Regions from separate parts of the Homo sapiens genome. Here regions 1, 2, 3 and 4 are each linked to region 5. Evidence: promoter capture Hi-C in 16 types of primary human blood cells and fetal thymus (Javierre and others, 2016). All regions are on one chromosome and are shown on one strand. Each heading gives the region's core, a stretch centred on a gene start or on the middle of the fragment in contact. The rest is flanking DNA. Distances are from core to core; before and after follow the strand shown. Region 1 overlaps ZNF221 (zinc finger protein 221). Region 2 overlaps ZNF45 (zinc finger protein 45). Region 3 overlaps LOC100505715 (a long non-coding RNA gene). Region 4 overlaps ZNF283 (zinc finger protein 283). Region 5 holds the start of ZNF180 (zinc finger protein 180).

The links. Contacts are between HindIII fragments. The CHiCAGO score rates a contact against its expected background, and 5 or more counts as called.
Region 1: a contact is called between a fragment that was not itself captured here and the fragment with the promoter of ZNF180 in region 5, in 2 of 17 cell types (M1 macrophages and M2 macrophages). The highest score is 5.3, in M1 macrophages.
Region 2: a contact is called between a fragment that was not itself captured here and the fragment with the promoter of ZNF180 in region 5, in 4 of 17 cell types (total CD8 T cells, M2 macrophages, naive CD4 T cells and 1 more). The highest score is 6.8, in total CD8 T cells.
Region 3: a fragment that was not itself captured here is called in contact with the fragment with the promoter of ZNF180 in region 5 in 1 of 17 cell types (activated CD4 T cells); the score reaches 6.0 in activated CD4 T cells.
Region 4: a fragment that was not itself captured here is called in contact with the fragment with the promoter of ZNF180 in region 5 in 6 of 17 cell types (non-activated CD4 T cells, M1 macrophages, activated CD4 T cells and 3 more); the score reaches 7.7 in non-activated CD4 T cells.

Annotation. Positions count from the first base shown.
Region 1 is chr19:43,967,119-43,970,793 of GRCh38, reverse strand. It overlaps ZNF221 (zinc finger protein 221), which reads right to left. Exons shown (of 5, transcript NM_001297588.2): 5 at 3,085-3,675. The coding sequence ends at 3,438. Among named protein-coding and RNA genes, the nearest start is that of ZNF155, 15 kb to the left of the region's middle. The HindIII fragment of the contact is 5,043 bases long and covers 1-3,675 here.
Region 2 is chr19:43,922,512-43,925,805 of GRCh38, reverse strand. It overlaps ZNF45 (zinc finger protein 45), which reads left to right. Exons shown (of 10, transcript NM_003425.4): 4 at 348-481; 5 at 1,245-1,404; 6 at 1,496-1,568. It overlaps ZNF45-AS1 (ZNF45 antisense RNA 1), which reads right to left. Exons shown (of 3, transcript NR_184050.1): 2 at 552-664. Among named protein-coding and RNA genes, the nearest start is that of ZNF45, 11 kb to the left of the region's middle. The HindIII fragment of the contact is 2,032 bases long and covers 310-2,341 here.
Region 3 is chr19:43,889,004-43,892,448 of GRCh38, reverse strand. It overlaps LOC100505715 (a long non-coding RNA gene), which reads left to right. Exons shown (of 3, transcript NR_038334.1): 3 at 1-645. Among named protein-coding and RNA genes, the nearest start is that of ZNF404, 6.8 kb to the right of the region's middle. The HindIII fragment of the contact is 577 bases long and covers 1,812-2,388 here.
Region 4 is chr19:43,848,501-43,852,135 of GRCh38, reverse strand. It overlaps ZNF283 (zinc finger protein 283), which reads right to left. Exons shown (of 7, transcript NM_181845.2): 7 at 119-3,635. The coding sequence ends at 3,495. Among named protein-coding and RNA genes, the nearest start is that of ZNF283, 23 kb to the right of the region's middle. The HindIII fragment of the contact is 1,386 bases long and covers 804-2,189 here.
Region 5 is chr19:44,498,477-44,501,824 of GRCh38, reverse strand. It overlaps ZNF180 (zinc finger protein 180), which reads left to right and starts at 1,303. Exons shown (of 5, transcript NM_001278509.3): 1 at 1,303-1,550. RefSeq lists enhancers at 848-897, 1,074-1,368, 1,208-1,417, 1,428-1,487, 1,034-1,534 and 2 more. The HindIII fragment of the contact is 10,008 bases long and covers 1-3,348 here.

The DNA of each region.
Region 1 (3,675 bases), core at 906-3,405, 530 kb after region 5:
CAATCAGTCATAGGTTCAGTCTTTTTACATAACTCCATATTTTTTTTCAGAGGTTTTGTTCATTACTCTTCATTCTTTCTCTATTCTTCTCTGCCTGTCTTATTTCAGAAAGATAGTCTTCAAGCTCTGAGTCTCTTTCCTCCTCTTGGTCTATTCTACAATTGATACTTGTGATTGCATTGTTAAGTTCTTGTGTTGTGTTTTTCAGCTCCATCAAGTCAGTTATGTTCCTCTCTAAACTGGCTATTCTGGTCATCAGCTCCTGTATTGTTTTATCATGATTCTTAGCTTCTTTGCATTGGGTTATGCCATGCTCCTTTAGCTCAGCAAAGTTCATTACCCACTTTCTGAGGCCTACTTCTGTCAGTTCAGCCATCTCAGCCTCAGCCCAGTTCTGTACCCTTGCTAGAGAGGTGCTGTAGTCATTTGGAGAAGAGGCGCTCTGGCTTTTTGAGTTTTCAGCATTTTTTTGTGTTGACTTTTTATCATATCTGTGGGCTTACCTACCTTCAATCTTGAGGTTGCTGACCCTTGAATGGGGTTTTTGTGGGGTCTTTTTGTTGATGTTCTTGTTGTTTTCTGCCTGTTTTTAACAGTCAAGCCACTGACTGTTAGCAACTGTAGGGCTGCCACAGTTTGCTGGGGTCTGCTCGAGACCCTAGTTGCCTCCGTTTTTCCCGTACCTGGAGGTGTCACCAGTGAAAGCTGCAAAACAGCAAAGATGGCAGCCTTCTCCTTCTTTTGGAAACTCTGTCCCAGGGGGATACTGACCAGTTTCTGGCCTGAAGACTCCTGTAGGAGGTGTCTAGAGACTCCTGTTGGGAGGTCTCACTGAGTCAGGAGGAACAGGATCAGGGACCTACTTACAGAAGCAGTCCAACTGCTTTTGGTACAGCAGGTGTGCTGCGGTGGGGGAGGACCCTTCCTCACCCAGATTGCCCAGACTCTCCAAAGCCAGCAGGCTGGAACAGCTTTGTCAACCGAACCATAGAGACAGTGGTCGCCACTCCCCTGGGAGCTCCATCTGAGGTAGAGATTAGATTTCTGTCAGTATAAGCCTGGCTGGAGTGACTGAAGACCCCCCACAGGGAGACCCCACACAGTGGGGAGGAATGGATCAGGGTCCTGCTTAAAGAAGCAGTCTGGGCCAGGTGCAGTGGCTCATGCCTGTAATCCCAGCACTTTGGAAGGCTGAGGCAGGCGGATCACCTGCGGTCAGGAGTTCAAGACCAGCCTGGCCAACACGGTGAAACCCTGTCTCTATGAAAAATACAAAAATTAGCCAGGTGTGGTGGTACCTGCCTGTAATCCCAGCTACTTGGGAGGCTGAGGCAGGAGAATTGCTTGAACCCAAGAGGTGGAGGTTGCCATGAACCAAGAGCATGCCACTGCACTCCAGTCTGAGCAACAGAGTGAGACTCCATCTCAAAAAAAAAAAAAAAAAAAAAAAAAAAAAAAAGCAGCAGTCTGGGCATGATCTGGCAAAGCAGGTGTTCTGTGTTGGGCAGGGGGATCCTCTCCTTGTCCAGACAACCTGGTCTCTCCAGAGCTGGCAGGCTGGAATGCTGAGTAGACTGAACCACAGAAATGGTGGCCAGCCTTCCCCCACAGGAGCTCCCTCCTATTTCAGGCTGAAGCCTGTTGCTGTTGGTTGGTTGAAATTCCAAGCCAGTGGGTTTTGTAAGGTGCCATGGAAGTGGGGCCCACAGAATGTTGCTGCCTGGCTCCCTGGATTCAGCCCCCTTCCTAGGGGAATATAAGGATGAATCTGCCACCTTGCCAGGAATTCTGGGGCTAGAGCATGTAAACCTCCTGGGTCTCTGTGTGTGCCTGAGAGGCCGCTCTGCCAAAACTCCACACAGCTCTGTGTATCAAACCCAAGGCCCTGGTGGCATGGGCTCACAAGGAGATCTCCTGACCCGTGGGTTGCAAAGATCCTTGAGTAGCATGGTTTCCTGCGCAGGGTCGCACAATCACTCACTGCTTCCCTTGGGTGGGGGTGAGGTTTCCTTTGGCTCCATGCCACACCAAGTGGGCCATAACTCCACCCTACTTTTCTTCATTTTCTGTGGGTTGAATTGATTGCCTAGTCAGTCCCAATGAGAGAACCTAGATATTTCAATTGAAGGTGCTGAATTTATCTGTCATTTTCATTCCTCTGTATGAGTACCATGAACCATAGCTGCTTCTAATTGGCCATCTTGGTCTATCCCAGGTTTCCTCTTTTAGATACAATTTTGAAATATGTTTTCTCCTTTTGATCCTTTAATATCACATCTCTGATATTTCAAAAGATATGAAGCCCAGCCAAAGCTCTTTCTACATCTCTTACATGTACCAAACACACATACAAAGTGCCAATCAGTGTTAAGGTTGTGAAGATTCTGCAGCAAAGGTAAATGCAGCTTATATTCTAGCCGACATCAATTTTGACATGTCCATCATTAGAGATTTGTAAATGCCTGAACAAACTCCTATTCTTTCTAAGGCCTGTCTCTTGAATAACTATAATTGCCAAACTTCTGAATGAAGCCCCAAATTACAAAGGTTCTGTGCTACAGTGGTTCTAAAACCACGTGGGTATGCTGAACTATGGCTGAAACTCTGACTTTAACTTAAATATTTTCCCTCCTGAGACTGTATGAAATGTATCATCAGCATGGATTCTGTAATAAGCTATGAGATATGAACTCAAACTGAAGTGCTTACCACATGTATCAAATTTTTAATGCTTCTCCCATTGTGAACTCTCAGATGAGCTTGTAGTTGAGAAGACTATCACAGATATCACCTTACTAAGGTTTCCCTTGAAAGTGAACAGTCCAATGAAGTTGAAGACTTTGAGGCATAACTGAAGCACATGGCAATCTCCCCAAACTTCCACGGTTTCTCTGCCATATGGACCCTCTGATGCATATCAAGTCAAGTGCCTGTTGTAGTACATCCCATGCTCCTCACATTTGTATGGATTATCTCCACTGTGGACTCTTTTCTTGGTCTTTAAGATGTGATCTATGGCCGGGCGCAGTGGCTCACGCCTGTAATCCCAGCACTTTGGGAGGCCAAGGCGGGCGGATCACGAGGTCAGGAGATCGAGACCATCCTGGCTAACACGGTGAAACCCCGTCTCTACTAAAAATACAAAAAATTAGCTGGGTGTGGTGGCGGGCACCTGTAGTCCCAGCTACTCGGGAGGCTGAGGCAGGAGAATGGCGTGAACCTGGGAGGCGGAGCTTGCAGTGAGCTGAGATAGCGCCACTGCAGTCAGGCCTGGGTGAAAGAGTGAGACTCTGTCTCAAAAAAAAAAAAAAAAGATATGATCTATGTACAAAGCTCTTCCCACAGTTCTCATATTTGAATGGTTTTTCTCTGCTGTGGAGAATTGATGGGTCAGATGAGTTGAGGCCCAGCCAAAGCCCTTCCCACACTTCTCACATTTATATGGCTTTTCTCCCACATAGACTTACTGATGTAAATGAAGCTGTGAATTCTGAGTAGATCTCTTCCCACACTCCAGATTTCAATGGCTTTTCTCCACTGTGGAGTCTCTGATGTTTCAAAAGACATGAAGCCCAGCCAAAGCTCTTTCCACATTCCTTACAATTATAGGGTCGCTCTCCCCCGTGGACCCTCTGGTGCATGTCAAGATTAAATTTACTGTTGTACCCCTTCTCA
Region 2 (3,294 bases), core at 76-2,575, 580 kb after region 5:
CAAAAGAAACAAAAAAAATTAGCCAGGAATGGTGGCGGGTGCCCATAATCCAGCTACTGGGGAGGCTGAGGCAGGATAATCTTTTGAACCCGGAAGGCTGAGGTTGCAGTAAGCTGAGATCATTCCACTGCACTCCAGCCTGGGCCACAGCGCAAGACTCCATTTCAGAAAAATAAATAAATAAGTATTTCTTCTAAGATTGGAAGGTTTTATGTTTCCCTTTTCAATAGTAAGGGTTCTTCTATCTGAAGTAAGAGAACTAAGAATAATTTACTAATAAATCAAGCAGTAATTAACTAATACTAAGCTTTTAATCTGGGTATTTTACTCGTTTCCACCCTCCATAGAATCAGAATCATACCCTGAGAGCTACAAGAACTCCATTTTTCACTGTGCAGAGGCTCTCTGCTGAAGGGTCAAGTGGAATCTGGAATCCAGCCCATGTTTCCCCATCATCAAGCCATGTGAAGCTGCAGACTCCGTGAGTGCCTTAGTCCATTTGTGCTGCTATAACAAACAATACCATAGGCTGGGTGGCTTAAACAACAAACCTTTATAACTCACAGTCCTGGAGACTGGGAAGTCCATGATCAAGTCACTGGCAAATCCAATGTCTAATGAGGCCACTCTTACTGGTTCGCAGAAGCTGTTGTCTTGTATCTTCCTGGGAGGAAGAGAGAAAGAGCTAGGTTACTTGCTTTTCTTACAAGGAAAGCAATCCCATTATGGAGGCTTCACCCTCATGACCTAATTACCTCCTAAAGGCCCCACCTCCCAATAACATCACATTAGGGCTTCAACATAAGAATTTTGAGGGGACACAGACATTGGTCCACAGCAGCAAGGGAGGGGCTCCCTGACTGTTTCATGTAAAGCATCTGCATGGGTTTATGTGTAACTTCTATTGATTGTTTAAGCTGCCAGAAACTGTTCCACATGTTTTGTGTATACTTAGTCACTTTCACTGACCTTCCTATGAAGTAGGTATTATTATTACATCCAGTTTATAGATTAGACATTAGAGCACAAAGTACTAGCAAGTTGGACATGCCTGTATTCCAGTACTGGTGGGCTGGTTCTGGAGTCTAGACTGTTCACAACTCTGTTCTCTACTCCCTCAAGCAGCTCCCTTGGCTTCAGAGTCCAATCTCCATTTCTGTGTCTGTCTTTTACCCCTAACTCTGGAGCCCTCATTTCTCCTTCCATGAGATCTTAGACTCCCATCTGCTTATTTTTGTCTTTAGAAGCAACAGAGAGACAAGATTTAGAATACTGGCTCTGGTATGAAAGCTGGATTCAGGTACTGTTCCTGCCTCTTGACCTCACCAAGCCTCAGCTTCCTCGCCTGTTAAATGGATACAATTGTCGTCATTATCATCTGTTGAGAACTCCCTAAAATGCCAGGTACTATGCCAAGGGCATTGCATAAATTCACTCATTGATTCCTCACAGTAATCCTATGATTAACATCCTGTTTTCATTTCCCTTCTTATAGCTGAGCATAGGCACAGAAGTTTAGGTGTTTGGACCAAGGTCACACAACTGATACAACAGTAGCTTCTTCACAGGTATGTGTGAAGTACCTTAATGAAACATCATGTGCCAAGTTCTTCATAAGGTCCCTAATATGTATTTAGTTAAATATCACCATTTTTGTTGTTATTATTGTGCTTCCTATAGCTTGTTAATTTCAGTGACATTATCTAATTTATAGTTGCATAAATCTTGCAGAGTCATGATTTTTTATTAAATTTTCTCTGTCTCTATGATAGTCTTTTTAAGGCCCTACTGTTAAAGTAAATTTTGCAAGGTCTTTTTTTTTTTTTTTAGATTTTTTTTTTTTCTCTTTAGAGATCACTCTGTTGGCCAGGTTGGTCTTGAACTCTTGGCCTCAAGCAGTCCTCCCACTTTGGCCTCCCAGAGTGCTAGGATTACAGGCATGAGCCACTCTACACAGCCAAATTTTGCAAGGTCTTATACCTTTTAGAAACCAGTCCATATAGTCAAATTCATAGAGATAACGTGGTTATCAGGGGCTGGGAGGGGGAATGGGGAATTATTACTTAATGGGTACATAAAAAATTCTGATGATGGATAGTGGTGATGGCTGCACAACAATGTAAATGTACTTACTGAATGTAACCACTTAAAAAATGGTTAAAATGGTAAATTTTATGTTACATATTTTACTATCAAAAAAAGCAGTCATCTATGTACAGTAGTCCCCCCTTATCCACAGCAGATACCTTCCAAGTCCCCCAGTGAATGACTTAAACCTCAGATATTACTGAACCCTAAATATACTATGTTTTTCCTTTACCTACATACTTATGATAAAGCTTAATTTATAAATTAGGCACAGTAAGAGACTAACAACAATAACTTATAATAAAATAGAATAATGATAAAATACTGTAACAAAAGTTCTATAAACATGGTCTCTCTCTCTCTCTCAGAATATCTTACTGCACTGTACTCACCTATTTTTGGGCCATAGTTGACTTCAGGTAACTGAAACCACAGAAAGCAAAACTATGGATAGGAAGGACCACTGTAATCTTAAATACTATTGCAAAAGCCTCAAATTAAGTATGGGAAACCAAGAGAGAATAACAGGTATTTCAGAGGTTAAAGGCGAGGTTAAAGTAGAGGTTAAAAAACCTCTACTAAAGAATTCATCAGCTGAGTGTGGTGGCTCACACCTGTAATCCCAGCACTTTGGGAGGCTGAGGCAGGAGGATCACTTGAGCTCAGGAGTTTGAGACTGGCTCGGGCAACATAGCATGACCTCGTCTCTACAAAAAGTAAAAAAATTAGCTGGACATTGTGGTGCACACCTGTGGTCCCAGCTACTTGGGAGGCTGAGGTGGGAGGATCGCTTGAGCCCAGGAGGTCAAGGCTTTAGTGAGTCATGATTGTGCCACTGCACTCCAGCCTGGGCAGCAGAGCAAGACCCTCTCTCAAAAAAAAAAAAAAAAAAAAAAACAAAGAATTTATTGGTAGAAACCATTAATGAGCACAGGTTTTATGTTATGTGCTTTTCTGCAGCTAAGAAATAAGGTACTCTGAAAATATTCTTTGAGCTTTTTCCCTCATTTAATTTGTAAACAATCCTATGAGATTGTTAATTCTCTCATTGTTAATCTCTTCATTTTATGGATGAAAGAACTGAGGCACAGAGATATTAATAATTTGTCCTGGATTTCATAGCGAATAAATAGCAATGCCATAAATCTAGGCATTTGGCTCCAGAGGGGCCAAATACTCTTAATCTGGGTATTTTACTCTCAATTT
Region 3 (3,445 bases), core at 851-3,350, 610 kb after region 5:
TTTACTGTAAAGCATGGGCCCATATATGTGCAGGAGTCTTTCTACTTTTCCGTTGGTCCTCTTTGTCAATCTTTGTGCCAGCACCTCCATTTTAATTCCTGTAGCTTTATATTATATCTTGATAATCTGGTAATATAAGTTGAAGAACAACTTTGTTCTTCAAAATCACTTTGTCTATTCCAGGTTCTTTGCATTGCTCTATAATTTTAGAATGAGTTAATTAATTTTCTCAAAACAAACAAAACGCCCTGCTGACATTTTGTTGGCAGTACATTGAATCAGTAGATAAATTTAGAGAGAATTATCTCAAAATTGAGTCTTACAGTTCATGAACATGGAATACATTTCCATTTATTGAATTCATCTTTAATTTCTTTCCTTAAGGTTTTGTTGTTTCCTGTCTAAAGGTCTTGCACATCTGTTAAATTTATTCCTGTTTTACATTTTTTATGTTTTTACAAACTGTTAAGGTTTTAAAAATTTTATTTTTCAGTAGCTTTGCTTTAATATAATTGTTTTATACTTTTACCCTTTATTCAGCAATAAATTATTTAATTTAAAGCTTGTGGAATTAAAAAATATTTTTATGTACATAATCATGTAATCTACACTATCTGCAAATAAAGATCATTTTACTTCCTTCCATTTACACCTTTTATTTTTTCCTTATAATATTGGATAGGTCTTCTACTACAAAATTGAAAAGACATGTAAGAGTAGACAACCTTACCTTGTTCCTGAAATCAGAAAGACAGTGGTCCATATTATGTATAATGATCCCTTTATGTACAATGGTAGTTGTAGTTTTTATTCTTTAGGTCCCCTTTATCAGATGAAAGAAGTTCCCCTCTAGTCCTGGTTTGCTGAGAATTTTTATCATGATTAATGTTGTATATTGTTAAATGGATTATTTCTAATGAAATAATTGAATGGTTTTCTCCTTTATTAGTTAACATTGAAAGATTACATTGATTTTTTAAAAATTAAACTTATACTTGTTTGAGGTTATGGTAAAAAATTAAATTAAATGGCCTTTGAATTTCTAAAATAAAGCTCTCTTGGTCAATATGTTACTGGTTTCTCTTTGCTAATATTTGGTTTAATATGCTTGCGTCTGTGTTCATGAAACAGATATATTGTAATTTTCCTTTTATGTAATATCCTCATCTGGTTTTGATATCACAGTTATTCTGGCCTTATGACATAGTTTGTTTTTTTCTATTTTCTAGAACAAGTTGAGTTTGATTGGCATTTTTAATTTCTTAAATGTTTGGGAGAATTTGCTACTGAATCCTCTTGGCCTGACATTATTTTTGTGAGAAGATCCTTAATACAGATTTAATTTCTTTAATAAATAAAACAATATTTAGATTTTCAATTTCTTATATCAGTTCAAATTGTGTTTTCAAGGAATTTTAAAATTTCATCTACATTTTCAAGTTTATTAGAAAGTTATAAAGTTGTTCATACAATTCTGATTTTAATGTATGTAGTAAAATAGGTAGTGTTATCTTCTTTTATATTCCTGATATTGGCAATTTTTTCTTGATCAGTGTAACTAGAAGTTTATTATTCTTATTAATCTCTTCAATGAAATAGCTTTGGCTTTATTGATTTTTCTTTATTGTATATCTGGGGTTTTTTGTGTTATTGGTTACTTTTGGTATGTTATACTTTCTATAGGTTTAATTTGCTTTTCCTTTTCAAGCTTCTTGATGTATATCACTGATTTTCAACCTTTCTGTTTTGACAAAACATATATTTAAAGCTTATATCTTCATAAGCATTGGTTTACCTGCGTCTCACAAGCTTTGATATATCTTACTTTCACTATCATTTAACTCAAAATATTTTCTAGCTTCCATTGATTTATTATTTGACCAGTAACTATTTAGAAGTATGCCTTTTACACAGGCACATCTCATTTTATTGCATGTTGCTTTATTGCACTTTGCAAATATTGCAATTTTTACAAATTGAGATTTGTGGTAACCCTGCATTCAGCAAGTATATTGTCTCTGTTTTTCAACAGCATGTGCTCATTCTGTGTCTCTTTGTCACATTTTGTAATTCTAGCAATATTTAAAACTTTTCCATTATTTTTATGGTGATCTGTGATCAGGGTCCTTGGTGTTACTGTTGTAATTGCTTTGGGACACCGTGAGCCACACCCATATAAGACGGTGAACTGAATGAATATATGTTATGTGTCTTCTGACTGCTCCACCGACCAGCTATTCCTGTCTCTCTTCCTCTCTTTGTTTTCCTGAAACACAACAATATTGAAATCAGGCCAGTTAGTAGCCCTACAATAGCCTCTAAGTGTTCAAATGAAAGGAAGAGTCCTCTGTTTCTCACTTTTAATCAAAAGCTAGAAGTGATTAAGCTTAGTGAGGAAGGCATGTCAAAAGCCAAGACGGGCCAAAAGCTTGACCTCTTGTGCCAAACAGTTAGCCTAGTTGTGAATGCAAAGGAAAAGTTCTTGAAGGAAATGAAAAGTGCTTCTCGAGTCATATGGAGATACTGCAATACAGAGAAAGATTAGTGGTCCACATAGAAGATCAAGCCAGCCACAAAATTCCCTTAAGCCAAAGCCAGAGCAAAGACCTAACTGTCTTCAATTTTGTGAAGTCTGAGAGACATGAGGAAGCTACAGAAGAAAGGTTGGATGCTAGCAGAGGTTGGTTCATGAGGTTTAAGGAAAAAAGTCATCTCCATAACATAACAGTGCAAGGTGAAGCAGCAAATGCTGATATATACGCTGCAGCCAGTTGTCCAGAAGATCTAGCTAAGATTATTGATGAAGGTGGCTACATTAAACAAAAGATTTTCCATGTAGACAAAACAGTCTTCTGTTGGAAGAAGATACCATCTAGGACTTTCATAGCTAGAGAGAAGTCAATGCCTGGCTTCAAAGGACAGGCTGACTCTCTTATTAGAGGCTAATGCAGCTGGTGACTATAAGTTGAAGGTGATACTCATTCACTATTCTGAAAATTCTAGCGCCCTTAAGAATTGTGCTAAATCTACTCTGCCTGTGCTCTAGAAATGGGACAACAAAGCCTGAATGACAGCACATCTGTTTATGGCATGGCTTACTCAATATTTTAAACCCACTGTTGAGACCCAATGCTCAGAAAGGAAAAAAAAGACTCCTTTCAAAATATTACTGCCGATTGACGTTCCACCTGGTCATCCAGGAGCTCTGTTGGGGATGTATGGAAAAGATTAATTTTGCTTTCATGCCTACTAACACAACATCCACCCTGCAGCCCATGGATCAAGGAATAATTTCAACTTTCAAGTTTCATTTTTTAAGAAATACATTTCATAAAACTCTAGCTGCCATAGATTGTGATTTCTCTAATGGATCTAGGCAAAGTGAATTGAAAAGCTTCTGGAATGGATTTAACATTCTAGATGCCATTAAGAACACTCCTGATTC
Region 4 (3,635 bases), core at 247-2,746, 650 kb after region 5:
AATGCATCAGAAGGATACTATGACTAACCTGGAATATCCAGGAATGGGAAAAAGTCAGTGAATCTATCAGAATAAATTATCACATGAACAAATTAAATACTATAGAAGTGCAGAAAAAGATAGTGAAACGGCATTTAATAAAACTCAGGAGGCACCACTACTTAGCTACAACAAAGATTTTCACTCATAACTGAGACCATGATGCTGCCATTCCATCATAGCTAACAACCAGACATGGTGACTGAAATTCTCTTTTGGTTATAGCAGCAGTTCCCAATGCAATTTCACCCACCTACAAAGATAATAGGTCATGGGAATAAGTATTTCAACAGTGAAGTTTGCCATACACCAGTTTAAACAAAGTTCAACCATTTTCTTCACTAGAATACTCCTTAGTCTTTTTTTATTTTTATTTTTTTGAGACGGAGTCTCGCTCTGTCGCCCAGGCTGGAGTGCAGTGGCGCAATCTCGGCTCACTGCAAGCTCTGCCTCCCGGGTTCACGCCATTCTCCTGCCTCAGCCTCCCCGAGTAGCTGGGACCACAGGCGCCCGCCACCACGCCCGGCTAATTTTTTCTATTTTTAGTAGAGACGGGGTTTCACCGTGTTAGCCAGGATGGTCTTGATCTCCTGACCTCGTGATCCGCCCGCCTCGGCTTCCCAAAGTTCTGGGATTACAGGCATGAGCCACCGCGCCCGGCCGTCTTTTTTTTTTTTTCACTTCTCTTTAGTCTTTTGATAAGCTGGTGAGGTGCTTTTGCTTGTTCCTTAGGAGGGGATTTAGTAGATGCTACTTTATAAGCTTCTTTAACTGTAAAATCCTCCTTCATTGTCAAGTACTAGTAAGCACTGGTGATTCCTTGAGATATAATTTCAGAAATGTTGGGATAAGGCACCATGTCTACATTTCTTGGTTAACAGGCAAATGTGGCACCCAGAGGGAGTGGCATAATAGCCAGTTACCAATAATATATCCTGTTAAAACTCCCAAAGTACTCTGCTTTGTGTTACAGTTGATTATTAAGAGTGCAACTGTTGGCTTTTTATGCCTTTGAAAAAGTGCAATCATGTAGAATGATGATCACTAGATGGTGAATGACTGACTGAACAGTGATATTACGAATCCCCTATGTGCACAAAATAGAGAGGTCAGGTGTAGACCTATGACAAGGAACCACAGACATTTAGTTATCAATGCATTAGTTCTGATGGAACTGACATTATTTTCAAAAAGAAATAATTTTTAAAAGGGTCGATTTCTAACTGTGTGAGTATATAAACACACACTCTATTTCTTCATAACTAACCTGCCTTGATGCTAGCACTAAATCATGACAGGCACCTGGTTGAAAGTGGTTGCAAGAAGCCATCAATTTTAAGATGCATTGTGATTTCCAAATAGTAAAATATAGCCAGGCGCAGTGTCTCACACCTGTAATCCCAACACTTTGGGAGGCTGAGGCAGGTGCAGGAGTTCAAGATCAGCCTGGACCAACATGGCAAAACCCCATCTCTACTAAAAATACAAGAATTAGCCAGTATGGTGGTGCACACCTGTGTATCCAGCTACTTGGGAGGCTGAGGCACGAGAATCACTTGAACCCGAGAGGTGCAGGTTGCAGTGAGCCGAAATCACACCACTGCACTCCAGCCTTGGTGACAGAAAGAGAGATCCTGTCCCAAAAAAAAAAAAAAGTAAAATACATACCATATGATCACACATTTCCAAAGATCATTGATCAAGGCTGACCAATCCTATTAGGTATATAATGGATCTTTATAACAGACAACTCCAGTAGTTACCATAAGTGATCAAACTTGGCACTGGTGATACTGGGGGAAATGGATACTATCTGCTTCTGAGGTATTGCAAGATGAAGTACACATCACCATCTATGAAGTGTTCTGGTAAAAAATGTTTAAGCCTCTATTTCCAACTTCATGTTACGAGAAATGTGAAGGAGAGGCCCATATCAAATTTCACCATGAGGAATGAAACTAATGTGTGACATTCTATAAAACAGCTTTCCTAAACTCTTCAAAAGTCTGGATTTTTTCAAGTCTCATTTTTTTAGCTCAGCTTAAGGGATAAACTCTGAATTAAAATCCCCTCAAATTCTTTATACTGTACTAGATCTTATCCAGAATGAACTATCTGAAATTCAAATGGATGAGTGGTTATGGGAAGCTTTTCTGAATTCATTCCTCAAAACGGTTGTGCCTCTCCTAAGAATTCACCAGTAGTAATACTAATAATAAAGACAATATGAACAATAGCTAATATGTATTAAGCATAGGCTACATACCAGATACTCTTCCAAGGATATGATGCATACTAAATCCATCTAATCTCTGTAACAGCATTATTAGTTACCATCAGCATTTGAAACATCATGTCCAGAAGAGATAAGCATTTTGCTCACCATCCTACAGGTAGTATGGAGGTGAAATGGTGATGACAGTATGGTATTTGCCATGGATAAGGGTTTTCCTACATTTGTTACATTAACAGAGTTACTCTCTAGGATGAACTTACTGAAGTTTAACAAAGACTGAATAGTGTTGGAAGGCTTCTGCACATTTAACATATCTGGTATAAATTATCTTATGCTGTTACAGGCATTAGAAAATTTTGATTCCCTCATTTGCCAAATCTTGCTATAGTATGAATATTCTGCTATTCTAATCAGAGAGGTGCAAGTGAAGAATTTCTTATTTAAATTGTCACTTGTCTCATGTCTTGAAAAGTGTGAGTCTTGTCTCAAATTATTTCTGGGAAAGAACAAACTTTGTTTTCAATTCTCAATCATTTATGGACTGATAATTTTGTAAAACAGAATGTTATGGAAATGTCAAATTGCTATAAAAGTTCCAAATATTTACTCACTTTCCACGTTTATCTCACAATTGACAGATGACAATTTTATGACTGCACCAGTCTCTGGATAATAATTTGGGTAGCATTTGTCTAAAGGCCTTCCTATAATTCTAATTCAAATGATTTCTCATTTGGATGAATTCTCTGATGTACTCTAAGATATTTACTGTGTCTATAAGCCTTCCCAAATTCCTTATGTGCATAGGATTACACAGCAGTATGAATTCTCTGATGTGCAGCAAGAACTGAATTAAGTTTAGGTCCTTCCCACATTCCTCCTATTTAAACTCTTTTTAACAAATACCAATTATTTGATGTTAATCAGACCTTATGTCATGAATGAAGATCTTCACACATTCCTTACATTTAAATGATTTTACATCAGTATAAATTGATATCCAATAAGACTGTACAGAAGTCTAAAGGCCTTTTCATATTAATTATATTCAAAATATTTCTCACTAGTATGAATTGCTGGATAGCAAGATAATTGCCCATAAACAGAAATGAATGGCTTTTGCACAACCCTTACATTCACAAGGTTTCTCAAGAGTAAGAGTTCTTATTATGATAAGTTGTCTATACACACACACAAAATATTCTTTTACAACTTTCAATCATAAGGTTTCATCAGTATCAATTTTCTCATTTGAGTAAGTTGTCCACAGAAAGGCTTCCCCACATTCGTTATATTTGTAGGGTTTATCATTACTATGAGTTCTCTCATGAACAAGTTTTGAGCCACAAGTAAAGGTCTT
Region 5 (3,348 bases), core at 54-2,553:
GAGCATCTATTATGTGCCAGGTCTCTCTCTTTTTTTTTTTTTTAGGTGTTGGGGATGCAGCAGTGATCAACATCGATAAAATGCTTTTCCTTATGGAATTGACATCGTAGTGGTAGGTCGGACAGTAGACCAAATAAATAATTAAAATATATAGTGTGCTAGATAGTGAAAAGTTCTTTAGAGAAAAAAATAAAAGATGAAGGGGGAGGCACAGAGCATGTGGGGAGGGAAGCGTTTGCTTGCAAGTTCACAACGGGTGGTGGGGCAATGCCTCATGAGAAGATGATATTCCCCTAATTACCAGACGGTGAGAGCCAAATGAATCCCTCAGGAGAGGCTGCTAGGGAGTGCAAAGAGCACCTGCAAACGACCAGGGGCTGGAGTCTGCTGGATCTGTTGGAGAATGGGGAAAATGTGCCAAGCAAATGGGCAAGAAATGAGGGCAAAGAGAAAAGGGGACTACGCCTGTAATCCCAGCACTTTGGGAGGCCGAGGGCGGATCACCTGAGGTCAGGAGTTGGAGACTAACCTGGCCAACGTGGTGAAACCCCGTCTCTACTAAAAATACAAAAATTAGCCGGGCGTGGTGGCTGGCGCCTGTAATCCCAGCTATTCAGGAGGCTGAGGCAGGAGAATCGCTTGAATCCGGGAGGTGGAGGTTGCAGTGAGCCGAGATCGCGCTATTGCCCTCCAGCCTGGGCGACAAGAGCGAAATTCCGTCTCAAAACAACAAAACAAAACAAAACAAAAACAGAGAAAAGGGGAGAGGTGGGGGGAACAGATCCTTCAGGCCTTATAGGCAGAGAAAGAACTCAAAATTTAAAAATAAAATGATTATATTTTAGTATTATTAAATGTAAAAACATAGATTCCTGAAGGGTTCGGTAGACGCTCCCTCCACTGTAAAATGGGGATGTCGCAACTGTCTCACAGGTTTCCCCTAGGACTAGAGGAGACAAGGGGTCGCGCGCAGCGTCTGACAGGCAGGGGGCACCCAGAAAGGGTCCCCGCCATTTCTATTGGATTCTGACGTCACGCCAGAGCGACTCCCCATGCGTCGCTGCACTGGCCTCGGCCTCCCGGCGCCGCGGCTGGTCTTAGTGCTCCCCCTAGACCTGCACATGCACAGGTGTGGCGCCCCCCCGGGCCCCGGACGAGGACGCCCTCTTAGCTTCTGGCCCGGTCCCCCGCCCCACTTCCTTGGAGAAGCCGGAACCCCGCCTACTGACCGTCCGCGCCGCGGAGGCTTCTGGGAATTGTAGTTCTGGCTCTCCGAGCCCAAGTGCACTTCCGGGTTCGGCCACAAGAGCAGCCATTGTCCCGCGCGCGGACGCTTGCTGTCGCCGAGCAGCTCGGCCCTTCAGACTTAACCCCCAGCGGCCTTGCGGATGCTGACTAGGAGAGGGGACCGAACTAGCTTAACCCGAGTCGGCCGTGTTGCAGAATCGGGGCAGGGGGTTGCCTAACCCGAGTTCGTCCTGCCGCAGAGCCGTGCTAGGCACTGAGGCGGTGACAGGCCCAGCCTGGGCTGCGGGCCAGCGGACGCCCAGGTTGGTAGGGGCGTGGGGCAGCGCTTGGTGTCCGATGCGCGCATGCGCAGGGTCTACGCGGGAAGCTGGAAGCGGTGGTGAGTGTAGCGGGGAGACCTGGTATCTGTGCGGGTGGCGCTTTAGCCTCGGGTCACCGGGGTTGATGGAGTTACTGATACAGCTGTATATTCCGCGACTGTCCTCTGCGTGCATGCGCGGGTGCTTGGTCAGGTGGTGCTCTTGTCTGGGGCCTGAGGATGCCCAGGTTGCTGGAACACAGGGCACATGCATTGATGTAAGGGGACATCTTGAGAACTCCCCTCCTCCAATGCCGGGCTTATTTAGTGGAGGCCTGAGGATGTCCGGGTTGATGGAGTGCTCCATTGCAGATTGTGGTTTCTGGAGAGGAGGGGCTGTGCCACTGTCCCTTTACTCTTGATCAGGTATTTGGGTAGGAAGCAAAAGGTTGTAGGTAAGATTCCGAGCAGGTGGCTCTGGGCCCCTAGAGCAGACAACGCGCTTCTCCAAGGTCTGGGGGCGCTGTGGTTGGTGGAGAGACCAGATTGGAGTTGCAGATTCTTGTGCCAGAAGAGGCAGTGTTGCTAGTGAACCCTTGGTGGGAATTACCCATGGGCAGCAAACTCCCAGGCTGAAGGAGGGTATCAGGGCCTAGAAACAGGTTCTGGGCAGAGGGCCCCCTGCACGTCCTGGGGGTGTCTGAATGGAAAACAGAAACTTGAACTGATAGTAGGGACCTATGTAGGATAGTGCAGAGCTCTAGAGCATTCAAGATGGGCAGAGACTCCGGGTTGGAGATACAGAATTTAAGTCCAGGAAGGACAGAGCTGCAACAGCTGCCATCAAATTGGTAGCTGGGGAGGAAGCAGTATGTTGCCAGCATCGTTATGAAGCAGGTGTTGCTGAGACCTTTACTTGGGTACGCTATTTGCAGGCGTGAGAATGTGCAGGTTAGTAGAGGGACAGAGCCTGTGCTGCAGATTTGGTCCCGGGAAGAGCTGACTGCACAACACCCAGGCCGTCATGATTGGGCAAGAGAAGGACAAAGGGCCCAGTTCCCATTGAGCTGCTGTATCGTAGGCTCGAGAACCCCCACGCTGGCGAGTGCCCAAGTCCTGGGGCTGATTATGGAGCTGTATGCTCAAGCTACTGTTTAGTTGTTGTAGTGTCCTGGCTGCGGGCAAATAGTGGGGCAGTTGACCCCAGAACCTACACAGAGGCTGTGGGTACCTGAGATGTCCCAGGCAGGTTGAGACACAGGGTGAGGGATGTAGATTGTTGACTCAGGAGCATGGTGTGCCCCCAGACGGGCAGAGGAGCCAGGTCCTGGATGCAGATTGTGAGCACGAACCTGCTCTGTGGCTGTATCAGTAGGAGGGAGTCTAGGTGGGTGGCCCGTGTGCAGTGGCTGTGGAATAGAGGCCTGGGGGCTCCAGTTTGGATCTGGTCTTAGGAGGCACGGGGCTGCTCCAGCAACACTCTGCACGTGTGCTGGCATTTGGGCAGATTGGGGAGGCATGGGCAGTCCTAGGACCCTGATTCTGCCTGAGGATGCCCAGGTGTGTGGGGGGGAGCAGCTGCAGAGGGGCGGGACTGTGTCAGGCACCCCTTGTGCACACACACCGGTGTTTGGTTGGGAAACAGGAGGCCGGAGATGAGTTTTAGACAGAGGGTGCTGGGGTCTTTGTGTGATTGGAACCCTGATCACAGCCTGATGGTGCCCAGTTTGGTGGAAAGACAGGATCTTCCTGAGCCACAGGTGCCCCCGAAAGATGTTTGGTCAGAATCTGGGCAGGTGTGG